Regions from separate parts of the Homo sapiens genome. Here all the other regions are linked to region 1. Evidence: promoter capture Hi-C in 16 types of primary human blood cells and fetal thymus (Javierre and others, 2016). All regions are on one chromosome and are shown on one strand. Each heading gives the region's core, a stretch centred on a gene start or on the middle of the fragment in contact. The rest is flanking DNA. Distances are from core to core; before and after follow the strand shown.

Region 1 (4,416 bases), core at 1,259-3,758:
AAATTCTTTCTTCCTGAAAAATGGAAACTATGAAAGGGGAGAAAAGTGAAAGACATTACAAAAGGGAACAAGAGCAACATGACTGGGAGTACAGAAGTATAGAAAAAAGGAAAAAAGAAATAGACATAAAGTAGACGAGATGGACAACTAAGGGTTAGGAGAAACACATTTTAAAAATGTATTAAATCCAAATTATAAAAAATGGTACAATGATCATTGTAAATTGTTAAATTTATATCAGTGGGGCATTACAAATATGGAACAGTTTTTTAAAATGTTTTCAATGGAATTTATCCCTCACATGACATAAAAACATTTAATTGTATCTTCCTTTAGGCATAAATGTTGAAAGAAGTTCGTTTTTTAAATCTGTTAAATTTTTTAAGTACATACGTGCACACAGATGAACTTGGTGTTAGAAGTGCTGCAAGCTGTTTATTAAAACTTAGAGTGCTGTCAGATTCCCCTGATATTTTCAGATGTTTGTTTACCAGCAGTAGCTTCAGAAGCAAGAAGAAAACCGGATCATTTATAATTGTATTTGGCTTAGATAAATAAAAGGTGTTTGGCTAAAGGTTCTTCCTAATTGAAGTCACTTTAAAATTCAATAAAAAGAACTGGCTAAAGAAGCAAACCCTAGGTATACAATAGTTTGTAATCATGAAACCAGCCTAGATTCAAACCCTTTCCTGAAAGAAAAATAGAGAAATATTTGTTGCCCTGGGGATGTTGGTGTATCTAGAAACAGAATAAGCAACAGATAATAATAATTTGAAGTTTTATTTATTCATTTTTCACTTTCTTCCAAAATCTTGCTTGGGTCAATATTAGAAATAAGAAAAGGGCCATTTTGAAATATAAACAAAAATATAAGTGTTTAGCTCTCTCAAATATCTTAACAATTATGAAATTATTAAAATGTTTAAGAAAATAATTCTAAGATAAACTTGATTTACTTGTATTAAAACAAAAATTAGAGACAAAATTGTGGACTTCCTTTTAGGTAGTTTTAAAGCATTACTTTAAATAGTTTCAATTAAGTGTAAATAAGGTGAATTTAATAGTCTGACAAAGAAATAAAGCCTGGATGCTCTTAGTTCAATTCATTAGTGATGGCAAGGTATATAAAGTAAAATTGCTTAGAGAAAGAAAAAAATCAAATGGGATAATACTTCAAAAAAATAGAGACTGATCACCAAAAGTCTAATGAAGGTTTGTGAATCATGTTTTTCAAATGGCCATTTGAGTAGCGTGACTCATGCAATATCCTCCCTCCTTGGCCTCTTTCCACAGTCAGCCAAAAATTAGTGATGAAAATCATATGAGAAGGAAATGTATCAAGTGGTTTTAAATCCTGACATAGAAACATGGTTTGCATCACCATGAATGCCGAACTCTAAAACTGCAGGTATCTTGATTAGGTTGAGAGAGAAGTTTAAAAATCACAAGTGATACTTTAATGGTTTCACTCCAATGAAGTGGAAAGGAGCTATCTTTTAACATTTTTCTTAACATCTTTATTTTTTGCCTGCCTGATTTTATTTATTCCTTGATCTGTGAGCTCTGATATGTGAAGTGTATTTCTATGGTTCTAAGGTAACTTTTAAGCTTGATGATTTTCACCATTGTGGATCAATAATATAATTTATCCTATTTCTCCCACTGTGGCAATACTGAAATAAAAATGTAAAACCAGTTTATCTGTTTTCTAATGCCTGGTTTACTCTTCTGAATTCTATAAATCATTCTGTTTTTCATATATACACATACATATGCATACACTATATGTATACATATAAATTTACTATATATGTATATATACCTACAAATATATATGCCTACAAGTATCCATATATACCTCCTATATATGTATATAAACCTACTATATATGCCTACAAATATATATATACTCTCTCTACACACACATACATGCACCTACACAGAAATCTGCAGGAAAATGACACTTTCACATATTCAAAGGGATCCCAAAAGAGTTCAAAAGCCAAGATTGGAAGCACCAACCCATGGAAAGATGTATTTAAAATCACAAAATACTTCTGTGGACACTGAGAAAAACCAAGCCACACAAACGTTTACATATGAGCGTGATTAGAAGGTGGGCAGACTGCCTTAATCAACTTTATATAAACTCTTGACATAAAAGTGAAAAAATGAAACATAAATGATATATTTTCTTAGCTCAACCGTTAAAAAGCCAATTACCTACTCGTGAACGTTTGCCACATACAATAATACTTTGAAGACACTTCATGATCAGAAGTGAGAAACTCTAGGCATTTGCATCCAACCGTCATTTTATCTGTGAAACTGCTAGTAAAACATAAACCTGAAAGGCATTACTCCCAGCTCTAAGGCGACATCGCTGTCATTAAAGAAAACCTGTGCCTGAGTTGGCTGAGTACCTTCTTGCAGAGTCCTCTGTCCTCGCGGAGTGGGAGGGTCACACTGGGAGAGACTAATAAGGGCAGAGATGCGTCCCCCTTCCCCACTCGCAGGGAGCTCACTCCTCGGCGGTGCCGCAGCCCTGTCCGGACTCCACTGCGCCTCTGAGGGGCTCAAATACGAATTCAAGGTAAGCTGCGCGGCTTTGCGACCGGCTCTGCACTTGCCCTCTCACACATGCCCGGGCTATGTCATCTGCTCGTGTTCCTAGTTATCTGTGTGCATCTGCTTTTCAAGAAAATGTAAAAACTGTGCTACACATGGAAATATGTTTAGGTGGATAAATAATGCACACCTGCATACGTTTCCATAGGGGCCTTAAGGATGGGACCAAAAACGTTTGGCAGGAGACGGCCACTCTCATGTGGTACATACCATGTAGTTCGTGTTCCTATGTTCACATGATGCAGGCTTCATGCGTTACACCTAAGTTCTAGGTGGTTTTTCTGGCTATGTGTGTCTGTGAAGCGGAACTATGGAGCACTGCTGATGCGGGTAGGGACAGACATCAAATACATTACAAAAAAAATGGGGGGTTAAAGGAGTAAAACAAACTCACTATCAATTCATGCCGTTAGAGCGCTTTTTTTTTTTTTTTTTGACGGTGTTAGCCCTGGAAGCGAGGCAGCCAGTTAAGCGGCGTAAGCTAAGAGACGCGGGGTTCCGGTGCGGTGCCCTCCGGCCCGGGGTTACCTACTCCACATGTGGGTGTTTTTCCCAAGTGCGGCTTCTGGGGGGCGGCGCGGGCGCGGGCGGGGATTCCCGGACTCCAGCCCCACCACGTTCCGGAGCGTCCGGCCCTGTTCCTTAATTACCCTGCAGCATGCGCAGCGCGGTCGGCCACAGCGCCGCCGCCGTCCCCGCAGTCCTCCCTGCAGCCACCGCCGCCGCCGCCGGAACGTCCCAGTCGCGGCGCGAGGAAGACGCGGCCCCAGCCTCTGCCGCCTCCGCTGTCAGAGTCCCGAGGCCACCGCCGAGAGCGCGCCGGCGCCGCAGCCACAGCGGCCGAGAACCAGGAGGCGGCGCCGGGCGGCCCAGCTAGGGCGCTGCAGGGTCGCGAGGAAGTTTGTTGGCCCGGAACCAAGCACGCCGTCGGGCACGCTAGCTCCCCGAGAGCAGGCGGGCGCGTAAGCGAACCCCCTTAGAGGTTACGGAGGGAGCGGGAAGCCGGCAAGAGGGTGGGCAGAGGAGCTGGGGGACAGGCGGGTGCCACAGGAGCCCCCGAGGAGCTTCATTTGATGAGAAGGTGAAGAGGCAGAGGGGACCAGCGTGCCTTGTCAGCCTCAGGGGACAGTGGGCTGGAGAGCAAAAAGAGGAGGGCCCAGAATGCTGATAATAAGTAGTTTTAATAGAACAATCCGTGAATAGAGGCAAGAGAGTGATCATCGGCCACAGCTTGAGATTGGGAGATGGAAGAGTAAGGGAAATAAATTGCGCCACCTCCCTCAATCCCCAATTCCAAGACGACTCAGTCCCATCTTCTGCTTGGATAAGTCTGAGGAGGATTAAGATGTGAGGATAATCACTCTGCTGTAGGGGAATTTACATCTGCCTGTTAATGGAGGAGATGAAACAAACGCACACCAGTATCTATTTTCAACCACCACCCCTCCCCAAAAAGGAGAGAACACCAATGCCTCCCCCTCTGCCCGAATCAAACACTGCTATAATTCTTTAGGAGACTAAAGGGAAAAAAAAAAAAGAAAGAAAAGAGCCCCTGCTCGTATGTGGGGTCTTGGCATCTCCTTGTTTTTGAGTGGTGGGAAACTTGCAGGACCCTCTCTAAGTAGAGAGATCTTTGATATGGGCCTGCAAAGCTGAGATATTTAGGTATTCCAGTGGTGAAAAACATGCATAAATGCCCCTTCCTGAGGAGGGCTGACAGGGTTTTTGTGTAGGAATATCTCTTCAGGATGAAAAAGAGGAGGGTGACCCCCAGAGGCAGAAAATTTA
Region 2 (4,416 bases), core at 692-3,191, 240 kb after region 1:
TTACATCTCCGTTTTGTAAGTGTGTGTGTGTGTGTGTGTGTGTGTGTGTGTGTGTGTGTGTATCTGCAGCGGTTTGATTTTTTTATGTGATGAAATTACTGTTCCTACTGATTCAAATAAATTATTCTGAAGGTAATATTGTTTTTAGCCCATTATCTTTAGTCTTTGAGTGGACGGGGAATAGGCTTGTTTGCTGAAAGAAAACAAAATTGACAAAGGTTTGATTGTAGCCCATTTAATTTCAGTCTTGTCTGAATCCACTGGATATCACTTTGGTCATTAGAGATGGAGAATTTCATCACATCTAAGTCTTTTCTTTTTCCCCACAGCTAAATCTGATGTTTCCTTTCTGATAGGCTATAGGTTGAGTCAGTTGAACAGTTGGGGCAATGAAAATACATACCCTCAAAACGCCATAGAACTAAGTGCCTTCCGGCACTTGTGCCCCCTTATCCATCGCTGTTCTCAACTTGAGTATCTTCCGTCTCCAACTTTATTTACTATGCACTGAAAACTGAAAGGAAAGTTATTATTTTCAGCATATAGCAGGACCCACCTCTAAAACAATTTAGTGTCCCAAAACACATTTTTGGACTGCTGAATAAAGCAGATGACAAAAACTGTCTCAGTGAAACATTTGATCACTTGTTAAAATACCCTCAGAATACCTTGAATGTGACTACATGCATTTTGAAGCTCATCATGTATCAATGGGAATCCAATTCAAATTCTTAACATCCCTTCTAGAAGCTTGAACTGATCAGGGCTTAGTCATGTTGCTCAGTTTTCCTTTCAGCAAGAGAACCACAATCTCTTCTGTTAAATGACTAAAGTCTGTGCAATGTAATATCTTCAGAGAAAATGAACCTAACAATTTATTTGAGTCAATGGGAATAGGAATTTCATTTCTTAAAAAAAAGTAAGATGACACTTTCTCAGATTTAAAAATATAGACACATAAGACCTATAAAATGGAGACATGGCTAGTTAATCATGTTTATTGCCACTTGTCCCTCATGGGGGTAATGGTCCCAGACAAAACAGCTGTTCCCAACATTGCTAAAATTCCAGTGTCACCTTGTGTGACCACAGAATACATAGACATGCATGTGAGGCAGCTGGGGATATCAGGTTGAGATTTTGAAAACTGGCTCTCAGGTTTTATTTTCTAATTATTTCTCTTTTTCTCTCCCTACGGACAGCAGCAGTAGGACATTATTAGTCACTTTCTGACTTCCTGTGTTTTTTACTAATAGTGGTAACATTATGGTGGAAAAAATATTATATTTGTACAGCCACTGACTGCTTGTTTCATCTTGTATTATGTTCTTGAAACCAACTATTAAGACATCTGGACTGACATGTGTTATTTACAGCAACGATGAGACAGACTATTTGAAATCCTTGATCTGTGGTCACCAAACTTGTAATTAGTTGTGATGGTGCCTGGATTCAACATCATTTCTTTGTGTTGGGTAAACATTAAGATTTGAGAAGTCAAAGGCCAGTCAGATTTATTAGAACCTTAATTTTCAGAACGGGATATTTGTTTCCTAAATAATCTTATAGTTTGCATTTGATGATATAGTTTCCAAGAGGATCTCCATACTGTATGTAATTTTACTGCTGTATATCTTTGTGAGGTAGGCAAGAAAAGATTATTTTCATTTAATAAGAATATTCTAGGTCCTGATGAATAAGGAGCTCAGCTCAATTTTTGCAGTCAGTTTTCTCTGCACATCAGTAACTATAGCTTAGTATGATCAAAGTAAAGACTGAAGGAAATTATATAACTAGAGAAGCAACAAGTTTTCAGCATTGTCTAGGGGACCTAAAACATGGAAGAAAAGTTGGCAGAAAATAAGATTTGAAGGGTCTTCAGCTATGTCTGTAATGAATTCATTAAAAAGTAGAAAGACCCAAAGCAAATATCGCAAAATTGTTAATATTTGACAACATAGGATTTTGGACTCATTGCAATTTATATTATTTTCTGTACTTTTCAGCATGCTTAGAATAGTTCAAATTCATTTTAAGAAGCAGGAAAAACATTCTATGGGATTAGTAACAGTTAATATCACTGATTACTTCTTCACTGGCTGATATCATCAGTATCTTCTCCTTTGACTGAAATCCTTTGTGGAATGGGGCCACGTGTTTTAAAACTAAAATTATTAACTATTTTTTAGAACTTTCCTGAGCACACTGTCTATAACCATGGTGTTCAGCTGAGCCAAGAATTGTCATTTGTAGATTTATCATTAGCACAACCTATAGATAAGGGAGAGACCTTAACATCACACATTTGAGTTGAAAGTGAGGACCACAATCACCCAATTATTCCAGAGCTGCCCAGAATGTCCCCAGCTATTCAAATTGTGCACATGCTCTTGGCCTCTATGTAACTTGGCAGTGTATAAGCTAGTGCCACCAGCCTGGTTATCTTAAGTCCCAGCAGTGTGCCTTGAAACTTGCATTTTCTTAACTCAGGAAGAGTTGTCATTCTACCAACACTTTTAAAGAGAATGAATGTTATCACCTAATTACAGTAAATGGAAACTCAAAGCATTCATAGGTGTGGGCTGCCTGTGGGGTCCATGTAAGCCATCTTTCCTCCAGATTTTGGTGGCATATTGAAAAATTCCTGAGGTCAAACAAGGGGATGGAGGCACAGTTGTTCCTAAGGTATGGTTTTTGTTGGTGGTGATCTTTTGAGGACACCACTGGATACAAATAATTTGTTTCACACATTCCCCTCCTTGCTAGTTTTCATGCCCCTGTGGCTTTTATCACCTTGTACTGGGTCATTGATGTTGCATCTGTGGGTGGCAAGGCACTCTAAAGATTCCTGCTGCTCCTTATATTGCAGGACACTGACAAATAATATTTTTCCTTTTTCAGGACATACTGGGGAGAGATGAGTATGAAACATTTTATGGATGGATAAGCAGAATAGCAGCATTAGGGGAGGAATCTTTTTTTTTCTAACTATCATGCCATGGAGATCAGTCAAAATGTCCCACTCTATCAATAAGGCAGTGGGCTTTACACCAATTAGGTTGATATCTGGGGAAATAAGTACCTTTAAATATATTTTTTTCTGCCTTAGAAAACAAAGTGTTAAAAAATCTACAAGCTTCCTAGCATAATTTAGAAAATCTGCTTTTATGAAATGGGTTAATTATGCCCATTGAATGCATTCACTGTCACAGTCTCATCCTCCCACTTCTGTTCCAAAATGACAAGTGAAACCAGGGACTGTGCAATTTTGGAAGACAATCAGATCACATATTGAGTATTTTGCTTATTCATACAACCATAAACGGCCTATGCTTGAGTTCCCTCAATTACACAGCTCAGTATGCAGGCCAGAAGCAGACAAGCCCAGCTCAAGTGAACACTTTCCTGGAATACACGGGGGAACGAGTTTGAAAAATGTCCAAAGTGGCAGATGTGAAAAATTCTCATTCAACATCCAGAGCTGCCTTTGCTGCAATCCTTCACCTGTTAATCGCACTGCCTCTGAACTTGTGAACCAGGGATGCTAGCGATATCTTAGACTGAGACACTTAGGAGCTATAGATCTTTCAAGGTATGGTGCCAGTATATGCCAAGGTGGGGGAAAAGCTAGCGAGACAAGACAAGATCATGGATCACAGCACTGCTCAGAATTTTCAGACATTCACCAAGAATAAGCATGTCGCTGCCAGCTTCCAACTAAACTGTTATTATCTTTTGTAGGGGAAATTCCCAAAAGATGTCCTTGATAAATGCTTAAACCATTGTACTGTATCACTTAAATTCTTCAGACTCCTGCAATGCTAATACACAATCTCTCCTCCACAACAGAATACAATGGCACTATTGTAGTCTTAAGTGAAGGATATTTCATTTTCCCTGAGTGAGACAACTTTCCCACAACTGTTATCCACTGCAATTTCATGCTCCTTGGAGTTTCTGTGCACCAAAATCATCCCCAAGCAATATACTCTCTTGATTAGCTAGTATTTTATTCCACCTCCTTTGACTATATTTATTTTTTCTTTTCTTCCACCATCTTATAAGCGCGAAGGCTCCTTGCCCTTCATTTGGCATTATTGAAACCTCAAAAGTTATTTAAGATGCTGGTTGAGATTGTTAACTTCCTTCCTTTTCCATCTCAGCCTAACTCTGATCTTTCTTTCTCCTGCTCTCTTTCTAGTAGAAGCCCTCCATGATTTTGAACTTCCTTGTGTCTCTGTGTTGTTCCTCTCTCTTATCCTTACCCCTCTCCCATTCTGGTCACTTTCCTCTTGACTCTTCTTGTCATCCAAGTCTTTCTTTTTTTTTTTTTTTTTTTTTTTTTGGAGATGGAGTCTTGCTCTGTCACTCAGGCTGGAGTGTAGTGGCGTGATCTCAGCTAACTGCAACCTCTGC
Region 3 (4,416 bases), core at 834-3,333, 220 kb after region 1:
GGCAGTTTAATTCCTCTGGGAATGCTTGGGACCTTCTGCACAGAAGAATGGGTAGACCTTTCACAGAGAGTTCATTCCGTGGCAGCTACCATACCTGCCCTCCAGAATTTATAGTCTAATCATGAGGAAAAGATCATAGAAAGCCCCTTTCAAATGTATATATTTCTCTTAAATGCCTCTCAGATCTTCATATATTCTAGCCCACTATCTTTAGGCAGGTATGTTTTTATTCCTTTTTTTTCCCTAAGGTAGAAATTGCTCAGGCTGAGAGATTATGTGACTTTTTCAGATTCACTTAATTAATAAATGAAAGAGGATGTACTAGTGGTCAGGTATCTGGCTTCTCATACAATGCACATTTTTTTTCTATCCTGTTTTTTAAGTCAATGATCAATTTGTGTCATAAATATATGAGTTAGAATCTGTATCACCTCAATATAATATACACCCTTCTAAAATATAAAGCATGACTATGGGTAACAAGTATTGAAAGTATGCCAAAATAGAAATATTGCTGCTCCAATCATCCAAAGCCACTATGTCCACGTTTAATGCAGACTTATAATTCTTGAAAATACTGGTGAACTACTATTCTCTTTTGTGGATCTATTTAAATAGCCTTATTTTTTTGTGCAGAACAAAACTTATATTGAGGAAAGAAGAGAAATATTCTAATACCAGACTATGAGCTCCTCGAGGGCAAGATCTGTGTATAATTTTTCTCTTTACTCTCCAACATCCAGCATATAATAAACACTTAATAAATATACAAATGCTTATCATTGATACAAGACTGTCTTTATTTTTCCCATTCATTTGTGTTCCTAAGTGGCAGTTGATTTCTCATTAAAGTAGTAAAAAATCTGTAACTTCGATTGTTTCCAACATTAGCTCCTGTAGTTTTAGTTATTGTTGATTTTTGAAAGATTTAAATTAAGGGTCTGTCTTCAGGAGCTCAAACATCTAAATGAACGTATGAATATTGCCATGTAATTTTATGTTTGAATCCCATAGACAAGTGACTGGATTTTTCTCTTTGCCTCTGGAGATCTTGACATCAAATAGATTTCACCTACATGTGTTTTCTCTTTTGAATGGATTTAAATCATATTTCTTCAATTTGACTTTTTCCAAATAATCATCTGGTAAAAATACTTTATTATGTGTAAGAAAAAGATCAATATAACTTTACTTAAATGTATAGTTTTTTCTCAGTTGTTGGTTTGTCAGCCATGATCCAAGATAAGGGCTTTTTTTCTTTCATTAACCCCTCAAGGCTCTCATTTGCAAAGTCAATGGGACAGTTAGGCATGTATTTTTTAGGGCATCTTTGTAGCTTTGATTCTATATTTTAAAAGATGCCCAAACTATGGCATTATTTCCCATAAGATCTCTAAGTTATTGGTTGATCAAAATATAAATGAGACAATAAACTACATTTGCATATTTCTGTGGATGAGTTTAAACATCCTTGTTTCTCCTGCAAGGTCTTTCACTTGAGTTAGGCCAGCCAACTGACATATTGCTCATTAATCATACATATTAACTGGAGTAGTTAATGCTTCAAAATCCAACTTACCATTCTGTCCACAGGGACTGGTTTGTGTTTTCTAAATGTGATGACATATGCTTCAGACACTGCTAATTAGGCCTTTCCCTTGAAAATTCATCCTGACATGTTTCAAGAACACTTTTCTCCCTTGAGTACAAGTTCATTAAATTATTAATATCCTTTTATAAGTCTTGTAGGACTACTTACACAATGCAGCTTTCTCTGTTTTCAAAACTATAGTTTATAATGAAGGATGAAATAGATCTCACTTCCTTATACTGTATATCTTTTTTTCCAGTCAAAAACAATGGGCTGGGTAAATATCAGAGAATAATAGATACTATATTCAGTTACATAAAATGTTAATGTAAGATTAAAAATATTTTTTAGCCTGGGCAACATAGAGACACCCATCTCTACAAAAAAATTAACAATTTGCTAAGTATGGTGGCACATACCTGTAGTCCCAGCTACTTGGGAGGCTGAGGCAGGAGGATACTTAAGCCCACGAGGTTGAGGCTGCTGTGAGCAATGATCACACCACTTTACTTCAGCCTGGGTGACAGAGCAAGACTCTTATCTCAAAAAAAAAAAAGATTTGCACATGGAAATGGAAATGGAAATGTTATACGGTCAGCTGTTTGTATCTGTGGGTTTTACATCCGTGGATTCAACCAACCATGGATTGAAAATATTTGAAAAGAAAATATGGTTACATCTTACTGAACATGTACAGACATTTTTTTGGTCATTATTCCCCAAACATTACAATATAACAACTATTTACATGGCATTTTCATTGTACGTATTATAAGTAATCTAAAGATGATTTAATGTATATGAGAGGGTGTGTGTAGCTTATATGCAGATTCTATACCATTTTATATAAGATACTTGAATGGCTATGAATTTTGGTATTGGACAGTGGGGATCTGGAACAAATCTCCCACAGATACCAAGAGATGACTGTACATATAATCGACTCTACACACCTGTAAGGAAGTGTTATAAGCAATCTAAAACAGATAACCTAAAATTAGTTCTATTGAGCTTCTGTATTAAATGATGAATTTGGTGGCAATTTTACCTTCTGGCCTATTATCTACCTAAGCAGGTGCTTATACCAACCTATATAATATGACCTTTTTAAGACGAAACTCCTAACGGCTTCACATCACAATCACAGTAATGAAACTCAGAGCACTCACCATAATCTACAAGGCCCAGCCTAATCTGGCCTGCCTGCCACCCAACCACACACTTGCTCTTCTCTAGCAACCTGTGTTTCTTTCTATTCCTTGAAGAATTTGTTCTTGCTGTTCCCTCTACTGGACAGCTTTCCCTGGATGCACCTGGATGCTCTTTCTCAGACCTTGCATGATCCTTGGACTCACTTTGTTCACATTTCTGCTGAGGGCTTCCCTGATTTTTCTATCTAAAACAGCACACCTTCCTGTATAACTCTGTACTGCCTTACCCTGCTTTATTTTTCTGTATTTCCTATCACTATCCAAAATTCGTATCTTTATTTATTTAGTTCTTAGAGATGCAATAAGTATAGCCTAGTGGTAATGGTCAGAGATGATACAGCCAAGTTGCCTGGATTCGAGTCTTAACTCTGGTGTTTACTGGCCCCATAACCTTGGGCAAGTTATGTTGTCACTAATTTGCCTCACCCTTAAAATGGGAATACCTCAAATATATTTTGAGGATTAAATGAATAAATATGTGTAAGTTTCTTTGAATGATATTTGGCATCTATTACTATTATTGTCCCCACTGGTATATAAGCTCTATTGAGACAGAATTCAAGGTATTTCCAGAGCATGGTAAAGCATCTAACCCACAATAGGGACTTCGTAAATACTTCTTAAATTAATTTATGAACAATTCTGGGCACATGCCAGCTGAAAGTGGGGAAAATATCTTATAAAAACACAGCGAAAAGCCAGCAGGTGAACAAATAGAGTTTAAAAGTCATAATGGAAATTTTATGTAGTTGAGAAAGCTGAGTTGGTTATGTGAGTTTTGTAAATGTAAATGCATATGTACTAGATGTAGCAGGAATGAGGGGAACAAGATGTATTTAGGGTTTCTGCCTTTAGGATACTTCCCTAGAGGTGAACAGAGAAAAAGTCAAAGAACATAAAAAGAATCTGGCGACTGACCAACAATTGCTGCCGGCAGGACCAACTGGGTCACCAGCTTTCCCAGGAAACCCTAACCTTACTTTGGGAAATGTTGGATCTGATGGGAGCTGAGGGAAGGTAAATTGTAAAGCACAGACTTCAAATTACTTTTACCCAGTTACAGCTTCAGGTGACATTGGATGTTAAGTTTAAGGAAGCGAAAAGTAGTATTCAAATAAAGAAAAATACTCTCGGTTTTGTACAATAGTATGTCCCAAGTGTTCAGTTTTTAAAGGTCATCGATACATTTTCCAAATATTTAAATCAATCATGCAAGAAAAAGAAGTGGTGAGCTGGGAAATGCCGTCTGAACACACTTGATCTAAAGCCTGGGGATAAGTATCAGAAGAGAAGAGAACCGAAGAGCGCACACACGTCTAAGACAGGTTACCGCAGGTGCATCCAGGGAAAGCTGTCCCTGTTTGAGGACTTTTCAGGGGATATAATGTCCCAGGTTGTTGCTGAGGTTATGTAAATGACTTTTTCTACCCACATTTTCCTCCTATCCCCATGATCCCTCCACTCCAGAGGGAAACTGGAGTGCTGAGGTCATCTATAACCAAATGAACAAGTCTGTCTAAATGCCTGTTGCAAATAATTGTCCCTTCTCTTCCACCATGAAGGCAAGCTCTAGGTCTTAATCATCTTAATATATTTTCCCCAACACAGCAGGTA
Region 4 (4,416 bases), core at 637-3,136, 210 kb after region 1:
CAAATCATGTACAAATGTATTTGAACCCTACCACCTTCCCACCCACATTTCTTGATTTGGCTTGTAAGATAATTATGACAGACTTGTTAGATACTGGGTGAACTGAAAAAATATTTAAATGAGGCTTTTTAGAAATAATAATGCTTCAAATTAAAATTGTACCCTATCAAAGCTTGCATTTCATAAGAAAGTAGATTAAAGAATAAATTAAACATGTATTTTCCATGATAATAAAGAAGGAAATCAGTTAAATTGTAAAGTTCAACCACTATTTTATGTAAATTTACTCCATTTATAAATGCGTATAGTCCAGATAATTTTATATTACTTTTATCTTCTATCAAGAGTAACATAATGTCAGAAACTAAAAAATGTAATAGAACTTATAGACACTTTTAGGCATAGTTCGTCATTATTGCTACTGCTCTTTCCCAAATGCCCTATTTATCAAAAGAAGTAGCTAGAGCAGGTATTATTGACATTATCCACATTTACAAATAATTATATGCATTTGGATTATATCCATATATGCTCAGTGATTTATTCTACTTTATAAGCTACTTGAATGGGAAACAAATGAATTTTAAAAATGAGCGTTCTTACATATTTACATTTAGGTCCAACTGAGTGCCACCATTTCTTCTCAGCTCAATAGTTAAGGAGTACTCAGCTCTTTCAGACATATAAATGTATTTGTACATGTATGCCTGTGTATATACATATGTGTGTATACATACAGATGCACATTCTGAAAGCTAAGACCAATAATTTTTCTATTTCACTAAAGTTTGCAGTAGAAAACAATAGTGAGAAAAATCTAGGAATTTAAAATCATTTTTATTTACCCAATGTTAAAAACCTCTTGTATTTTAATTGAGTGGTTGACCAAGAAGGTATTGACTATCATTAAGGCTATTTAAATGAAACATAAAATATGTGAAGTTTTATGTACTTTATTCCTAGACATAATGACTTTAATTAAAGCAGAACATTTAATTTTAAACAAATCATTAACTTGTTGGTTTTCATCAATGATTAAATACGTAGTAGCTACTACTCTACCAATATCTCACAATTATGGTGAGTTTCAAACATGGGTGTCACATTTAAACATGCTTTGAAAAATATCAAACATTATAGAAACATGTTAATATTGCTATTATTATTATGAAAGACATAGGATTCTGATCAATGAATTCTTTTTCTTTTTCTCTAACTCTTTGTGTAGTTTCCTATAAGCATAATAGCAACACTATTTTTGCAAGTACCACGCCAAGGTTCTGTTTGAAATTTTGATTAGTTGATTTTATTTTTTTAATTATCATTTAAGCTGCTAAATCTTAGTTTATAAAGTGTTCATTTAATAAAATGTAGAAGTAATGTGCTTCTTACACTTAAAAGCTATTCTTAACAATGTTCTGTGACAATATGTATCTGAAATTTATGGGCTGTTTTATTTCTCAACTTCCTGATTTTCATTTTTTGGATCTTTTATATGCCATTATTTATTTATTTACTTTGTCTTCTTGAAGCCCTGCAAGCAAAATATTTGGTTGACATATTTTTTAGTCTTACATCCTTTATGGATTCACACAGTTTTTAGAATTCAATGAATGTTGAATATTGATCCTAAGCTACAGATGAGAATGTTTCAGATCACGATGAGGGAGAACAGAATGGCATTGGGGGTTGGGGGCCTTCCTGGAAGTTAAGAGGGGGTTTAATCCATCATGAGGCAGAAAAAGGCCGTACAGAACCAAGAAGTCAACAGAAGAGCGGTTCTAGATTCTTGAAGGGTTCAGCAGAATTAAAATTTGGAACAAAGTAAGTGGAGGGATGCTGGATAAGAGAAGTGGCTGGAATTGGTGCCAGGGGAGAGAAGTTCGGTTGAGTAGTGAGGAGGGCACTGGAAACAAAAATCTCAAGAAAATGTGTAAGGAAATTAGGGCATGAGTTGTGAGGTAGGAGAGGCAAACAATGGAGATTGTGGTGGAGGGAAAAGGACAGGAACTGGATGGAAACCCAGAGAAGTATCTTTGTGAAAAGTGGAATATTTCAGGTAGCAGATCATGTTCATGGATATTAATGAGAAACATTGCAAAAGAACTGGCATTATAAAAATTCCATTTAAGATGTAGGTTCCTTGCAGGATTTCTTAGTATTCCTAACAAACAGACTCTCCCCAAAAATAATGAAAACAATAATTTTTATGTAACCTTGAATTTTCATTTTATAGTCACATTAAATGCACATCTGAATAATCTCAAGGTTAGCGTGAAGCTACCCTGGTCTTTTTAAAAGAAGTTCCTCTAGGTCTCTGAAAAAAGACATTTACTGGTGAATCAACTAGTTACTGCCGCAAACAGAAGTTTGTGTGGTTGGACCAAGATGACACCTCACTCTTGCACTCTGTTGCTGGATCCTAATTTTGATCCTGAACAGAAACTTTATGTTTTAAATTCCCTGTAACTTACCCCTCTATCCTGCCCTGTCTTGCTCTCAATTTATCCTCTCTGCCTGTGCCTGTCCTTTTTCCCCTCTCTGGGCAACCATCCTCTTGATTGCCTCCTTGCAACATTTTTGTGCAGGTTTTACTTTCCCTTGAAGTGCTTGCTCCAAGCTGGCTTTGAAGCTGTGTCTGGAGTCAGGATTCCTTGCATTCTAAACAGCACAGAGAACATCAACCTACCTACCCCTGCCCCCGTCAAGATGTGTTTCTTTGCACCAGCCCACACTTGATGGCAAAGGGGCTGGGTCACATTTCCTCCATGAGCTGGGAGCCTACAAAAGTACAGGAGGGCAGGGCAAGCAACATGTCCACTTTCATCTTATGGTGCAAGCAACTTGGAATTTAGCATACAGGTTGCACCACAGACTTTGGGGCCAGATTGCCTGAATTTTATTTATTTATTTATTTATTTATTTATTTATTTATTTATTATTGAGAGAGAGTTTTGCTCTTGTTGCCCAGGCTGCAGTGCAGTGGTGCAGTCTTGGCTCACTACAACCTCCACCTCCCCAGTTCAAGTGATTCTCCTGCCTCACCCTCCCAAGTAGCTGGGATTACAGGCATGCACCACCATGCTTGGTGAATTTTTGTATTTTTAGTAGAGATGGGGTTTCACCATGTTGGTCAGGCTGGTCTCAAACTCCTGACCTCAGGTGATCCACGCTCCTTGGCCTACCAAAGTTCTGGGATTACAGGCCTGAGCCACAGCGCCTGGCCCAGATTGCCTGAATTTAAATCCCAGCTTTACTGCTTATGAGCTTTGTGATCTTGTGTGAATTCCTCAGCCACTCTGCACCTCACATGCCTCTTTTAGAAAATGGAGATGCTAATAACGCCTACCCCACAGGGCTGTGATGAGGAGTAATGCCATGTCGGTGTTAGCCTAGTGATCTCAAGATGTTTATAGAAGGGAATGTAGGTATACAGCTTCAGAATATTAGTACTTGATTAAGGAGAATGTCTAATTGATCAAGAAAAAATATTTAAGATAAAATGACTTTTTTCACTACTACTCTGTTGAATCTATTTTATTTAAATTTTACCTGAATCTTACTTTACCTAGATGTCCATGCCCATTTTCTAATGCCCCAGAAGCTTGAGGCCCAGTGTTGATCTAACTTGATAATAAAATTAAGTATGTAAAAATGTCTGCAAGGTAGAGTAGACTATTGCCTTTTCCTTAAAGAAAGATATGAAGATTGGTGTCATCACTGTGGAGTAGCTGAGACCTCAAAATTTGTTTGATGAACAAATTGTGCTGATCATGTGTAAATTTACTGGGATTTTCATGTAAAATTTACACTTGGTTTTTCTTTTGGTTTGATTCTGAACTGGTTGATATACTTTACCTAAGACAGCACAAGTAATGAATTATGTTATTAATAAGTACTGGGGTATATTGATCTCATTAGGTAAAAGGACATCAAAGTCATTGCTTCTATGAAATCAACACATACAACAGGACTCACTTAAGCAAAATTTTCCTTAAGCTTATTTGTTTTTACAGGGCTTGGGATATTTTTCAAGTGAAATTGTGCCCTCATAGTCTAGCCATGCTCTATGAAAACTTTGTAGAACACAGCAAGACAGTAATGCAGGTCAGACCTGCCTCACAGTAAAGTAAAAAAATAATAATAATAGTGTTTCATTGGGCGCGGTGGCTCATGTCTGTAATCCCAGCACTTTGGAAGGCCAAGACGGGCGGATCACTTGAGATCAGAAGTTCAAGACCAGCCTGGCCAACATGGTGAAACCCTGTCTCTACTAAAAATACAAAAATTAGCTGGGCATGGTGGTGGGTGCCAGTAATCTCAGCTACTCGGGAGACTGAGGCAGGAGAATCGCTTGAACCCAGGAGGTGGAAGTTGCAGTGAGCCGAGATTGTGCCACTATACTCCAGCCTGGGT
Region 5 (4,416 bases), core at 634-3,133, 180 kb after region 1:
TTTCTGAAGAGCTTTAATATATTTTTAAGGCAGGCAGTTAAATTGGCTTGACTCGCATAGCAAACTCTGTTTCTCCTACAGCTGGCAACAGCTGAAATCCGTTTTGTTCTTTTAAGCTAAGCTGAGCTACTTGCAGTTTGCACTGTGTATGTTTGGTTAGGAGTCAGCCAGAGATTTGGGGAGAGCTTATACGCAGAATTTTGGACTTCCTTACTTATTTCAGGATTTGACAAACCAACCCCACTTTACTTTACAGGAATTGCATTTGCCCTAAACTCTGTCCTCAGATTTTTCAATCCAGCAAGTCTGTAGGCTTTCTATTTAGCTAACCCATGACCCAGACTTGAGCCTGTCCTCAGACTAAACATCTTAAAAACAGAAAACTGACTCCATGCTGTTTAATTTTTCCAAATGTTGACTCCCCTCCAGTATCTGCCTGCTTTTGATGAGTTTCCAGTGTCTTCAGGTAGTTGTTCTACATGTTGTTCAGTATTTATAGTTGCTATCTGTGAGCATGTTGATTTAATATAACTACTGGGCCATCCTGGAAGCCCATTTTTGTAATACAATGCTGAGTAACTTATAATTTACTTAGATATCTTGCTCCTGTAAACATAAGTGAGTTAGCCTTCACATTTCTTTACTTATTCTATTGACCTTGCCTTCAAAAAATATCTAGAATCTGACCAATTCTCACACCTCTGCTATTACTACTTGGTCCTAGTTACCATTATAAATCTCTTGATTTTTTCAGTAGCCAATTAATGGTCTCCCTCCTTCTCCCCTTGCTCTTCTTGCGTGATTTACACAAGAAGCCAGAATGTTCCTTGTCACTCTTCTTTTCGGAATCTCCAGTGTTTCCCCAGGTAATTAAATAAAACCCAAATTCCATACAATGGCCTACAAAGTCTTACAGGATTCAACTCTCATTGCATTTCTGACTTCATCTCATTTTCTTCTCTTTCTTTCTGATTTTACTCCACAACAAAGTAATTTTTCCAGAAAATTATCCAATATTCAATTTTTTTTTAATGCAGAGTGCTGGCCAATTAGAATAAATGGATTGTTCTGATTCAGTGCACTGGTGCTGTTTGTATTTTCAGGCTTACAGTGAAGAATGAATGACTATTAAGTTTTAATTCCTGTGATTTGTCTAATGATTATGATACAAAGTTTAAATTAAAATGTCTTTAATCTATAGTTGTAGATTTTACCATGTCTTGCCTTATTCATTTTTTCATTTCTCAGCAACTTGTTAAACTCATAGATGGTAAAATTTAGCATTCTAATCATAAAAATGTGAAATAACTTGCTATAAATTTGAGACTTATGGTTTCAACAGCACAAATGAAGCCAAATACAGTCAAATAATGCAGTGATTCAGCTGAAATTCTCTAAGCAACTGGGTTATTAACAACAAAGAAAAATTCCCTTATAAATATGTTTTTCATATATATGTACCAACTTTTTGAAATTCCACGTTTTAAAAATATCACCAAATCACATTTTTTCAAAAGGTATTTGGGTTCTACCACATCTGGAATGGCCATATTGCTAATATCATTGTCACGTATTGAGTTGCAGTAATGATGGATTAGAAAAGGCACTTTTGAATAACCTGTTAAAGAATAAAAATTCCTTTTCTAAATTATTTAAAATAAATATGTTAACAAAACTATATTCAGAATCAGCATTTTTTAAGATACTGTATTCTGATTGTGAGAAAACTAAATACTTAATGTCAAGATGACACTTAACCAGTGAGTTACTGATAAACTTAAATTATCTCTTCTGTTGATATTTGTAATTTACAAGGCAGATATACGTGAGCTAAAACCAATGCTGAATAAGAAAAATGTGTTTATCATAATAAGTATACACATTTATTTGATCAAATATAATGTATCCAAGGTCATAATGAAAATCTGATAAATTATTCTGAAATATGAAGATGTTGACATAAAAATCCTCTATTAAAGGTAAATATTTCATGGTTTAATCATGTTATTTGAAAAATTGCATTTTATATTAGCTTTTCCTCTCGTGTTGAAATATTAGTTGTAAATCATTACATTCAAATATTCAAGTACGATAAGCACAAATTCTTTGGTTATATGTCATCTGTTGTTAAAACCTTAATTTTATATAAATGTAGTGTGTCTTTATATGTAACTTCACAAATTGTGTATGTTCTATAACCTTCCTATTACATACTATTGCCAGATTCTCCTCAATTAAATAATATAATCCTGTTTTTACAGTAAAGTTTTACTGAAATACATTACTAAGGCTTCAGAAGCAAGACAGGGACTATGAGTGAAATGAGACAGTTGGCTAACATCTCTATCTCCTTTTCTCTTCCAGTCTTTGCATGTCATGTCAGAGGAGAGACAGGTGAAGGAAGGTAGAACAGTGCTATTTCATGTAATATATCCACTAATTTTAGTTCCTAGGAAAATGGCTGTGTTGCTCTGGCCATGTCTCTTTGGGAAGTTATTAAATACTCATCCAGATGGCACCAAATGTTTATGCAGAAGCCAAAGGTTAAGTCTGTCAACAGCAGAAGTGCCTTAGACATGCTTACTAAATGATACTTAAATACCAGTTCCTTGGAGCCCACATAAATCCAGCTTCAGTGAGAAATTACGCACAGAGAGGGTGCATAGCTTTTACTCTAAGAAAACTACCTTAAATACCATAAGCAACGGAGAGAAAATCTCAGCTGGTCATTTATAAATCAAATGACATTCAATTAGCAGATGCCCCTAATGCACAAGAGATCATATAGTGTTCACATAAGGGAATTTTTGAAATAATTATTTTTCTAAGTTGGTATGTACAAGAAACAAAAATAACTGCTCAGTAAGTGATATGGTCCCTTTCCTCCCTTCCTCTTTTACCCACTCATTTAGTTGAATGCTTACTGTGTGCCAGATACTGTGTTAAGCCCTGCAGACACAGTAACAAACAACAATCATTGTCGTTGCCTTCAGAAAACCTACGTGGTTTAAGAAAAAGCAACCAATTGGTTAAAGTTGATCATTTTTAAAATGATCGTTTGTGAATTGTGTATAAAAAGTTTACAAGTATTTGTACAACTGTAGTTGTTCATATTATACACAGACATCTAGTTATTTCAGAGAAAATTATTTTTTACCAGAATTCTTATGTTGTAATTTAAAGTTATTTACTTTTGGTTTGTTAAAATCAGTTAATTGGAATTAATATAATTCTAATCCTTTTTAGAGACCAATCGTTTTTTAGTTCCATTTAATATATCAATATAAGGCATTACCACAAAGATTTTTAAATGCTTAGAATAGAATTGAATTAAACTAATTTTAATGTAGATTTATGACTGAAATAAATACGTGCTTTGCTGCATATAATTTTTCAAAGGCTTACCCATTTTATAATTTTCTGATGGCATTTAGAAAGGTTCTTGTTGTATGCCCAAAGAGCGTAATTCCTCTTTCCATTCTGACTAGAATTAATATGTTCTGTAGCATATATGTATTATAAATATTTATATGTACATATAAATGTATATATTATAGCATAGTAATTAACAGGCTATTCAATTTAAGATTATTTTAAATTCCTCACATATCAAAATCTGAGTTATTTAGACACTTTATGAGTTGCCTAAATTTGAATCAACACTATTAGTTTTCTAAAGTTGCGTAATTTGTATTTAATTCATTGTTAGTTTTCTGAAACTAGTAATCCAACTTAGTATTGGGATTTCTGAGGTCCTAATCTGCCAGTAGAAAGAAGGCAGTTGAAATATTTTAAAAAATCAATCCTTTTTTTTATTTGTGGGCAAAAGACATGTAAGTGAATTAGTTGATTAAAATATAAGGTATTTTTCTACAATACAAAGCTATTTTTATCTATTCTGTGAAGAAATACTGGCGAGTTGATGCTTAAAGCCCTGGAAATATTTATGTTTTAGCCTCAGGGAAGATTTATGTTTTGGAAAAACTTACAGTTGGCTCGTTCGACATGGAGGTGATTTATATCTCTTTCGTTAGATGATTAATTTGAGAATAACTCCTTCTGCCCTTTTGTTTATAGTTTGCTTCTGTTTCAAAAGGCATTTTAAATTGTTTTCATCAAAAGTCCAAATTATGCATTTTAAACCTCAATCAGTAAAACTTTCTTTCCTAAAAGTGCTATGCATTGACAATTTGTGACTTTTACAAAAGAGTTATTTTATTTCATGTTGAAATACTCAGCAATCTAGAAAAATAAATTAAAATGTATTTTAAATGCCATTAGAAAATTATAAGATGGGTAAGCCTTTTGAAAAATTATATGCAGCAAAGCACGTATTTATTTCAGCCATAAATCTACATTAAAATCAGTTTAATTCAATTCTATTCTAAGCATTTAAAAATCTTTGTGGTAATGCCT
Region 6 (4,416 bases), core at 717-3,216, 160 kb before region 1:
CTTAGGATCAGACATGGAAAGATGGGTAAAAATTTAGATCAATATTCAGAAATGACACATTTACTAACAAAAAGAATAACTGTACTGGAGGTTTCAGCCAGTGAAATTAGAAAAGTAAAAAATAAAAGCAATTACAAATCTTATAAGGAAGAAGTAAAACTGTCTTTTAGCAGCTGATATGATCATGTATAAAAGAAAACCTCCTAAGGAAGCTACAATGAAGGTACTAGAACTAATAATTTAACCAGGTTGCAGGATATAAGAGTAAGATACAAAGACAAATTTCTACATACTAACAACAAATATTAAAAACTGAAATTAAACAACATAATTTGCAAGACTATAAAAAATACTTAGAGGTAAATTTATCAAGATATTTTTAAGACCTCTACTTTGAACACTACAAAACATTCCTGAGAGAAATTTAAGATGTAAATAAATAGATATCATGTTCATGGATAGAATATATCAATTCTCCCCCAAATTTATCTATAAGAGTGAAAGTAATCCCAATAGATATCCTAGTGGATGTTTTGTGGAATTATAAATTGATTCTTAAATTTATATGAAAATGCAAAGGATTTGGCAAAGCCAAAATGATTTTGAAAAAGGAAAATAAAACTGAATAATTTATACTACCTAACTTCATGGCAGATTATAAAGCTCTATTAACCAAGTATTAGCATAAAGACATATATAGATCAATGAGTAGAATGGAGATTCCAGAAATAGACCCACACTTACACTACAATCAATTTATTTGACAAAACTTCCAAGGAAAGCCAATGAGCAAAGGATAGTCTTGAAAAAAAAATTATGCTGGAACAATTGGATATCCACATAGAAAATAAAATGAACCTTAACCCTTAAGTCATACCATAGCACAAAAGTAACTTAAATGGGGTCATGATCCCAAGCATAAGATGTAAATCTACAAAATTTCTAGAAGAAAATGTTTCTTACCTTAGGATAGACAAACATTTCTGAGGACACAAAAATATGAACCAAAAATAGACATATAAATTAATATTCATCAAAATTTAAGAAACATCTGAATTACAGTTAAGAAACCAAAAACATAAAGAAAACTTGCCACGAACTAGGAGACGATACAATACATATATGTGACAAAGTGCTAGATCCAGACTATATAATGAACGCTTGTATCTCACTCATAATAGAAAACCCTAATTTAGAAAATGGCCAAGAGATTTAAACACACATTTTACAGAAAATAGCCAATAAGCATACAAAAAGATGCTAAATATCATTTAGTCACCAATGAAATGCAAAGCAAAACTGTGAGATGCTACTGCATATTCATAAGAATAACTCTTACAGACACTACATAAGAGTTGACAAGAATGTGAAACAATGGGCAATCTCTTATTGCTGTGGGAATGCAAAACGGTTGTAACCCTTTTGGAAAACAACTTCGGCAGTTTCTTATAAACATATTAAACGTTAGATCCAAAAATTCTACTCAAGTATTTATCCAAAAGAAATGAATGAAAGCACATCTACACAAAGGTTTGTACAAAAGTGTTCATATTAGCATTATTCATTATAGTCTCAAACCAGAAACAACCCAAATTTCCACCAACAAGGGTGAGTGAATAAACAAATTGTGATACAGACACACACTGTAATACCACCGAACAATAAAACTGAATAAACCACTGGGCAAAAAAATAGTATTAAATAATAACATGAGCAAATCTCAAAAACTGTGCCATGCCAAAGAAGCCATCAGACAAAAGATTGTACACTCTATGATTCCATTTATTTAAAATTCCAGAACACATAAAACTGACCTCTAATGATAGAAAGGACATCAATAATTACCTAAAGTCTGAGCTCAGGGGAGCAAGAGAGGGCATGAGGTAGATTTTTCGAGTGATGTGGATGCCCTATCTATCTATATTGGGCAAAACCAGTCTGTACACTTAGTAAAGTTGATTTGAAAATCCTTCTAAACATATGTTTGGTGAAATGGAACATAGCATATATAAAAGAAGGCAGCTGATGTTAGAGACCAGATTATAAATATTTATAAAAACCTAAAAACAATTTAGGATTAAAATAAAGCTGGAGAGAGTTTCATCATACTTTCAGTGCTATGAAGACAAATCACCTTGGGGTAAAAAAAACTGGGATGAATTTTTTAAAAATTTATTCTAACAGAAGATTTAAAAAGTGATTATATAGAAAAATTAACTGATTATGGTATATTTTTAAAAATCTCTTTCAAACCAGGCGCTTTTTAGGGTGAGCAGTTAGTGCATTTCTTTCTAATTATAAAAGGTGGAGAAAGCAGCACCCAAATTGAACCTGACTGACTCATCTTTGAATGGTTCTTTGAACCATTTCTTTTTCTTTTTTTTAACATTTAAGTTCACGGGTACAAATGCAGGTTTGCTACATAGGTAAACTTGCGTCATGGGGGTTGTTGTACAGATTATTTCATCACCCAGGTACTAAGCAAGGAACCCATTAGTTATTCTACCCGATCCTCTCCTTCCTCCCACCCTCCACCCTCTGAAAGGCCCCAGAGTGTGTTGTTCCCCTCTGTCTGTCCATGTTGAACCACTTCTTTTAAAATTTAGCACAAACCCACTTTCCAGCTTCATTCTGCCTAACTTCAAGTTAGTCCACTGACTGAATTTTCTGAATTACAACTTGTGTGCTATTGTATACAAAGGTCTGGTGTTTGAAATGCTTCCAGATATACAATGAGCATATTTGGAAGTCTGTGGCCAACAGTTTTTGTTACTTTTTAGTCTCAGCCATATTAAAGTGATCTTAATTCATTCTAGGTAATTAGGTTTAAGTACCATAGTCCCAAGAATTCAAGGCTGGCAAACAATGGTTTCCAAAAAAAGAAAATAATAATTTTCCATGTCAAATAATATCTTTAACATACTTTCAGAAACATAATCTAACAATGAGGCAAATTCTATTACTGTCAGAGTTCCTATGTTTTTTTTTTTTAAAGTCATTTTGTTTCTCACAGTTTTAACAACCCATACAAATAGATAAATTCATAAAGAAAATGTCACACATACATAATTGGAACATTATTCAGCCTTTTAAAAAATAAGAGAATCCTCTTATTTGTGACAACATGGATGTGCCTGAAAGACATTATGCTAAGTGAAATAAGTCAGGCACAGAAAGACACTGCACAATTCTTATGTGAGACACCTGAAATAGGAAAAAGTATAGATATAGAAATTAGAATAGTAGTTACCAGGGAATGCAGAAAAGAGAGAAAAAGAGTTGTCATCTAAGGGGAGGCAGTTACACAAGATGAATAAGTTCCAGAGGTCTGCCATGAGAGGGCCTACAGTCAACAATAATATGTGGTACATATAAAATCTTAGAAAGAATGGATCTCATTTTAAATGTTAACAAATCAACAACAGCAACAAAGGAAAACATAGAAAGTTTTGGAGGTGATGGATATGCCCATTACCCAGAATGTGGTGATAGCAACATAAATGAATATGTATATTTAAACTCACCAAATTGCATTAATTAACTATGTGCAGTTTTAAAAGAAACAATTGCATCTCCATAAAAGTGGGAGGAAACACCAGTATGGTAAAGCATGAAAACAAAAATGTACACCAATAGAAAAGAATAGAGAGCCTAGAAATAAATCCACAAACCTAGTCAATTTATTTTTGATAAGCGTACCATGAATACATACTAAGGAAAGGATAGTCAATCCAACATAGTGCTGGAAAAAATGAACACGCCAACAGAATGAAACTAGGCCCTTATTTTACACCATACACAAAAACCAAATCAAAATAGACTAAACACTTAACATAAGACCTGAATCTGTAAATCTACTAGGAGAAAGCATAGGCTCCTAAGCTCTAAGTCCCAGATCAATTTATAGGAAAGTATAAACTTGAAGAATATGCTAGCAGCATATTGCAATACTTATCTATATTTTTATTTTAATTTCCCAACAATTGTTGTAATACATTGCTCAGAAAGGTTATGCACCTTACCCAAACTACCAAAGAGAGCTGTGATTTAAAACCAGATTAAACCCCCAAATCCATTTTAAGTACCATGCTGTAATGCCTCAAAAGGAGAGCTCAATCTCTCCAAGAGGTACTACATAAACTTGGGGAAGAGTGACAGCATAATTTTTAAAAACTTCATTTACCTTCAGGGGACGCAGAGCGCCACAAAATTTTGTCCACCAGCTGTTTTCAATGAATTCTAAATGCCTCTCTCTCTTCTTAAGTGTTCGTAACCTTTCTTCAAATTGTTTTAAGGCGCGTTTATCCCTTGCTGGCAAAGGTCGACCATCTTTGCTCTGCAAATAACAGAACAAAATAAAAGTTTTACCATTAACATCTTAATAAAGTACCCAGCAGATTTAGCAGATCAGGCAAC
Region 7 (4,416 bases), core at 625-3,124, 150 kb after region 1:
CTGGCTAGCCATATGTAGAAAGCTGAAACTGGATCCCTTCCTTACACCTTATACAAAAATCAATTCAAGATGGATTAAAGATTTAAACGTTAAACCTAAAACCATAAAAACCCTAGAAGAAAACCTAGGCATTACCATTCAGGACATAGGCGTGGGCAAGGACTTCATGTCCAAAACACCAAAAGCAATGGCAACAAAAGACAAAATTGACAAATGGGATCTAATTAAACTAAAGAGCTTCTGCACAGCAAAAGAAACTACCATCAGAGTGAACAGGCAACCTACAACATGGGAGAAAATTTTTGCAACCTACTCATCTGACAAAGGGCTAATATCCAGAATCTACAATGAACTCAAACAAATTTACAAGAAAAAAACAAACAACCCCATCAAAAAGTGGGCGAAGGACATGAACAGACACTTCTCAAAAGAAGACATTTATGCAGCCAAAAAACACATGAAGAAATGCTCATCATCACTGGCCATCAGAGAAATGCAAATCAAAACCACTATGAGATATCATCTCACACCAGTTAGAATGGCAATCATTAAAAAGTCAGGAAACAACAGGTGCTGGAGAGGATGTGGAGAAATAGGAAACACTTTTACACTGTTGGTGGGACTGTAAACTAGTTCAACCATTGTGGAAGTCAGTGTGGCGATTCCTCAGGGATCTAGAACTAGAAATACCATTTGACCCAGCCATCCCATTACTGGGTATATACCCAAATGAGTATAAATCATGCTGCTATAAAGACACATGCACACGTATGTTTATTGCGGCACTATTCACAATAGCAAAGACTTGGAACCAACCCAAATGTCCAACAATGATAGACTGGATTAAGAAAATGTGGCACATATACACCATGGAATACTATGCAGCCATAAAAAATGATGAGTTCATATCCTTTGTAGGGACATGGATGAAATTGGAAACCATCATTCTCAGTAAACTATCGCAAGAACAAAAAACCAAACACCGCATATTCTCACTCATAGGTGGGAATTGAACAATGAGATCACATGGACACAGGAAGGGGAATATCACACTCTGGGGACTGTGGTGGGGTCGGGGGAGGGGGGAGGGATAGCATTGGGAGATATACCTAATGCTAGATGACACATTAGTGGGTGCAGCGCACAAGCATGGCACATGTATACATATGTAACTAACCTGCACAATGTGCACATGTACCCTAAAACTTAGAGTATAATAAAAAAAAAAAAAAAAAACACATGAAAAAAAAAAAACAAAACAAAACAAAGCAAACATGGAAATGTTTGTTATTTTAATTGTTATGATGGTTTCATGGCTGTTTGCATGTGTCAAAACTCATCAAATTTGTGTACGTTAAATATGTGAAACTTATTGTATGCTGGTTACACCTCAATAAAGCTGTTAAATTTTTTTAAATTTAAAAATATTATTTCAAGAATAAAATAACCAAACCATATTCTGGGAGCAAGTATTTGCAAATTATATATCTGATAAATGACTTGTATCAATAATACATAAAGAACTTTTACAACTCACAAATAAGAAGGCAAACTAAAAATGGAAAAAAGATTTAAATAGATGATTCTTCAAAGAAGATATGTGAATGTCTAACAAGCAGAGGAAATGATCATTAATCATTAAGAAAATGCAAATTAAAGCCACAATGAAATACTATACATCCACTAAAATGGCTATAATCAAAAAGATTGACAAAATTGGTGAGAATATGTGGAAATCAGGAACCCTAATACACTGCTGATGGGAATGTAAAATGGCACTTTGGAAACTGGTTTGGGAATTTCCTAGAAAGTTAAACACATACTTACCTATTATGACCTAGCAATTGAACTCCTGGGTATTTACCTAAGAAAAGTAAAAATCTGTGTCCACAAAAAGATGTTTATTTTATTGTTCATGGCAGCATTATTTAGAATATCTAAAAATAAGAAACTGGTGAATTAATAAATAAAATATGGTGTACCCACATAAATGATACTACTCAAAAAGAAACAAACTACTTAGCCATGCAACATGGGTAAACTCAAAAGCATAATGTTGAATCAATTAAGCTAGACAAAAAAGGCTACATATTGTATAATTCTATTTATATGAAATTTCTAGAAAAAAGCAAAACTATAGAGACAAAAACTATGTCAGTAGTTTTCTGGGACTACAAGAGTGAGAAGCAGTTGACTACAAATGGGCACAAGGAAACTTTTTTAGGTGATGGAAGTATTTTAGTCTTAGGTTGTGGTGATGGGTGCAGACCTATATAAATTTACTAAAACTATTGCACCCTACATGTACAGTGTATCAGTATTATGGCAAGTAAATCATACCTTAATAAAACTGTTAGCTAAACAATAAAAAAGATATCTATGCTGGAAGTAGGAACATGAGACTCATTAGCATATAGATGATCATTGTAGCTGTAAAAGTAGAGAAAACATCTAGGGAAAGTTTGTTGAAAGGGAAAACATAAGAAGCTGGGACAGATCCCTGTGGAGCAGCAACACTTAGAGGATCTAGCAAAAATGAAAATGAGTAAATGCAGCTACAGAGGTAGAATAAAAATGAAGGAAATATAGTATCACAGCAAGTAAGTATTTCTAGGAGGGGGCTTGTCATAAAGATATCAAATGCTTCAGATAGGTTAAGGAAGAAAAAGACTAAAAGGTGTCTGATGGTGGTCACCCAAGACCTTGGCATGAGCAGTTTTTGAGGACCAAATAAGGTACAAGTCAATCTGGAGTGAACTGCAGAGTGAGTGGGAGTAATGAATGCAAACAGGAGTATTGGGAGCCTGGCTCAAGAAGTTTATCTGAAAAAGGAAGGATTTCCTTCCAGGTGAAGCTGGAAATGACAGGATATAGAAGTGCAAGATTTTGTTTTAACAGAAGATTCAACAGCATGTTTCAGTGTGGTTAGAAAGAAGTGAGGGAGAAAAGGCTGAAGATTCAGAAGAGGGCCATAATGAGGGAGCAGAAAAAGATAGGATTGAAAACACAGGTTGAAAGATTACCATTAAACAGTAAGGAATAATTGTTCCATGTAGAAGAGTAAAGAATGGTTTTAAAATAAGTGAATTTGTAGATTTCATGGCATCAAGGAAAGGCTTGTATGATGGCTTCTTTTTTCTTGGTAGAAAGCAAGGTTTTTGAGAGTAAAAGCAGAAGTCATAATACCAAGGATTTGAGGGGAATGGCACTCTTTAAGGACCTAGAATTAGGTTAGTGATCATGAATTTATAATAATACCAGTCTACCCAATTGTATATTTTTTCTCTAGGAACAAGAGGTGGACAGTTTGATTCACTGGAGTTAGCTCCATCAGAAAGCTAGTAGAGCAAGGGTGTTTAGAGTGGTGGTAACAAAACACTTGGAATGACAGATCATGGATGGACAAAAGTGAAGGCATTGGGGGCTGATAGACATTGTCTTCACTTGCATTCCCCTGAAACAAGGTCCGAGACAATGACTTTAGGTCAGGTAGTTGATTTGAGAGGGAGCTCAGGATACAGGAGTGACGGAATGGGGAAAATAAGTCAGGAAACAAGGGAAAGATAATTAAAGGGTGCATGTTTTGAGCTACGTATCATTGTGGGTAACTGCAGCTGAGTCCTACTGGAAATCCTCTGAGGAAGCCTGTAGAATGTGCCTGGAAATTATCCCTCTGTAGAACAGAAAGCTGACACATTAATCCACTAATTCCTGTCACCCTTTGCTGGAGAATTATTTCTAGAAGCATTAACTACCCCCATTTTTCCAGGATACCTTGCCAGGGCTGAACAAACTCTCTGGCTTCAGAAAAATCCCAGAGGCAGAAAATGAAAAGTAATGGGGAGGATTGGGCTTGAGGTGAAATATTGACAGCATCCAAAACTCCACAGGAATTTTCTACCACCAGCTTCAGCTAAAAGCTGAAGTAGTCCTAGGGGCATATGGTAGAAGATGAAATTGAACCAGTTTACAAAAGTCCCTATGCAGTCAAAGTAATTGAGGAAATAACTTAGGATAATAGATGGAGTTCTTTGATTGTATGGAAGTTATTGATATCCTCTGAGCTATTGATTTATCATCTGTAAATGGGGATGAGATTACCCACTTTGTGTGGTTACTGCTAGAATTAAAAGTCCTTATTATGTAAGGTGCTTAGCACAGGGCCTGGCATGTAGTAAGGTATAGAGAACAAAAGCTACTATATTATTGCTATTATCTATTGAAAGATTAGTAATATTAATAACTACCTGCATTATGGATAATAGACTAATTCAAATTTTATGTATAATATTTTTGAATATTATATTCAAGTTCACTACTTAACTTGAACCAGTAAGTTCACTACTTAAGAATATAATATTTCATATGACAAGACATTGCAGTTTTGTTTGGAAGAACATTAAATTCTGGTACTTT

What was found. The method cuts DNA at HindIII sites, captures the fragments that hold promoters and counts their contacts. A CHiCAGO score of 5 or more calls a contact.
Region 2: a contact is called between a fragment that was not itself captured here and the fragment with the promoter of COL19A1 in region 1, in 1 of 17 cell types (naive B cells). The highest score is 5.6, in naive B cells.
Region 3: a fragment that was not itself captured here is called in contact with the fragment with the promoter of COL19A1 in region 1 in 2 of 17 cell types (total B cells and naive B cells); the score reaches 8.7 in total B cells.
Region 4: a contact is called between a fragment that was not itself captured here and the fragment with the promoter of COL19A1 in region 1, in 1 of 17 cell types (naive B cells). The highest score is 6.8, in naive B cells.
Region 5: a fragment that was not itself captured here is called in contact with the fragment with the promoter of COL19A1 in region 1 in 1 of 17 cell types (naive B cells); the score reaches 5.8 in naive B cells.
Region 6: a contact is called between a fragment that was not itself captured here and the fragment with the promoter of COL19A1 in region 1, in 2 of 17 cell types (naive B cells and total B cells). The highest score is 5.6, in naive B cells.
Region 7: a contact is called between a fragment that was not itself captured here and the fragment with the promoter of COL19A1 in region 1, in 1 of 17 cell types (naive B cells). The highest score is 5.1, in naive B cells.

The regions. Positions count from the first base shown.
Region 1 is chr6:69,864,048-69,868,463 of GRCh38, forward strand. It overlaps COL19A1 (collagen type XIX alpha 1 chain), which reads left to right and starts at 2,509. Exons shown (of 51, transcript NM_001858.6): 1 at 2,509-2,593. RefSeq lists silencers at 3,147-3,196, 3,417-3,466, 3,477-3,546. The HindIII fragment of the contact is 9,714 bases long and covers 1,607-4,416 here.
Region 2 is chr6:70,109,523-70,113,938 of GRCh38, forward strand. All of the region lies in intron 16 of COL19A1 (collagen type XIX alpha 1 chain), which reads left to right. Among named protein-coding and RNA genes, the nearest start is that of COL9A1, 190 kb to the right of the region's middle. The HindIII fragment of the contact is 2,386 bases long and covers 749-3,134 here.
Region 3 is chr6:70,088,043-70,092,458 of GRCh38, forward strand. All of the region lies in intron 15 of COL19A1 (collagen type XIX alpha 1 chain), which reads left to right. Among named protein-coding and RNA genes, the nearest start is that of COL9A1, 210 kb to the right of the region's middle. The HindIII fragment of the contact is 9,444 bases long and covers 1-4,416 here.
Region 4 is chr6:70,070,062-70,074,477 of GRCh38, forward strand. All of the region lies in intron 15 of COL19A1 (collagen type XIX alpha 1 chain), which reads left to right. Among named protein-coding and RNA genes, the nearest start is that of COL19A1, 210 kb to the left of the region's middle. The HindIII fragment of the contact is 3,432 bases long and covers 171-3,602 here.
Region 5 is chr6:70,045,502-70,049,917 of GRCh38, forward strand. All of the region lies in intron 14 of COL19A1 (collagen type XIX alpha 1 chain), which reads left to right. Among named protein-coding and RNA genes, the nearest start is that of COL19A1, 180 kb to the left of the region's middle. The HindIII fragment of the contact is 6,984 bases long and covers 1-4,416 here.
Region 6 is chr6:69,709,462-69,713,877 of GRCh38, forward strand. It overlaps LMBRD1 (LMBR1 domain containing 1), which reads right to left. Exons shown (of 16, transcript NM_018368.4): 9 at 4,184-4,336. Among named protein-coding and RNA genes, the nearest start is that of LMBRD1, 85 kb to the right of the region's middle. The HindIII fragment of the contact is 5,858 bases long and covers 1-4,416 here.
Region 7 is chr6:70,015,149-70,019,564 of GRCh38, forward strand. The region is part of intron 11 of COL19A1 (collagen type XIX alpha 1 chain); the gene reads left to right. Among named protein-coding and RNA genes, the nearest start is that of COL19A1, 150 kb to the left of the region's middle. The HindIII fragment of the contact is 6,043 bases long and covers 1-4,416 here.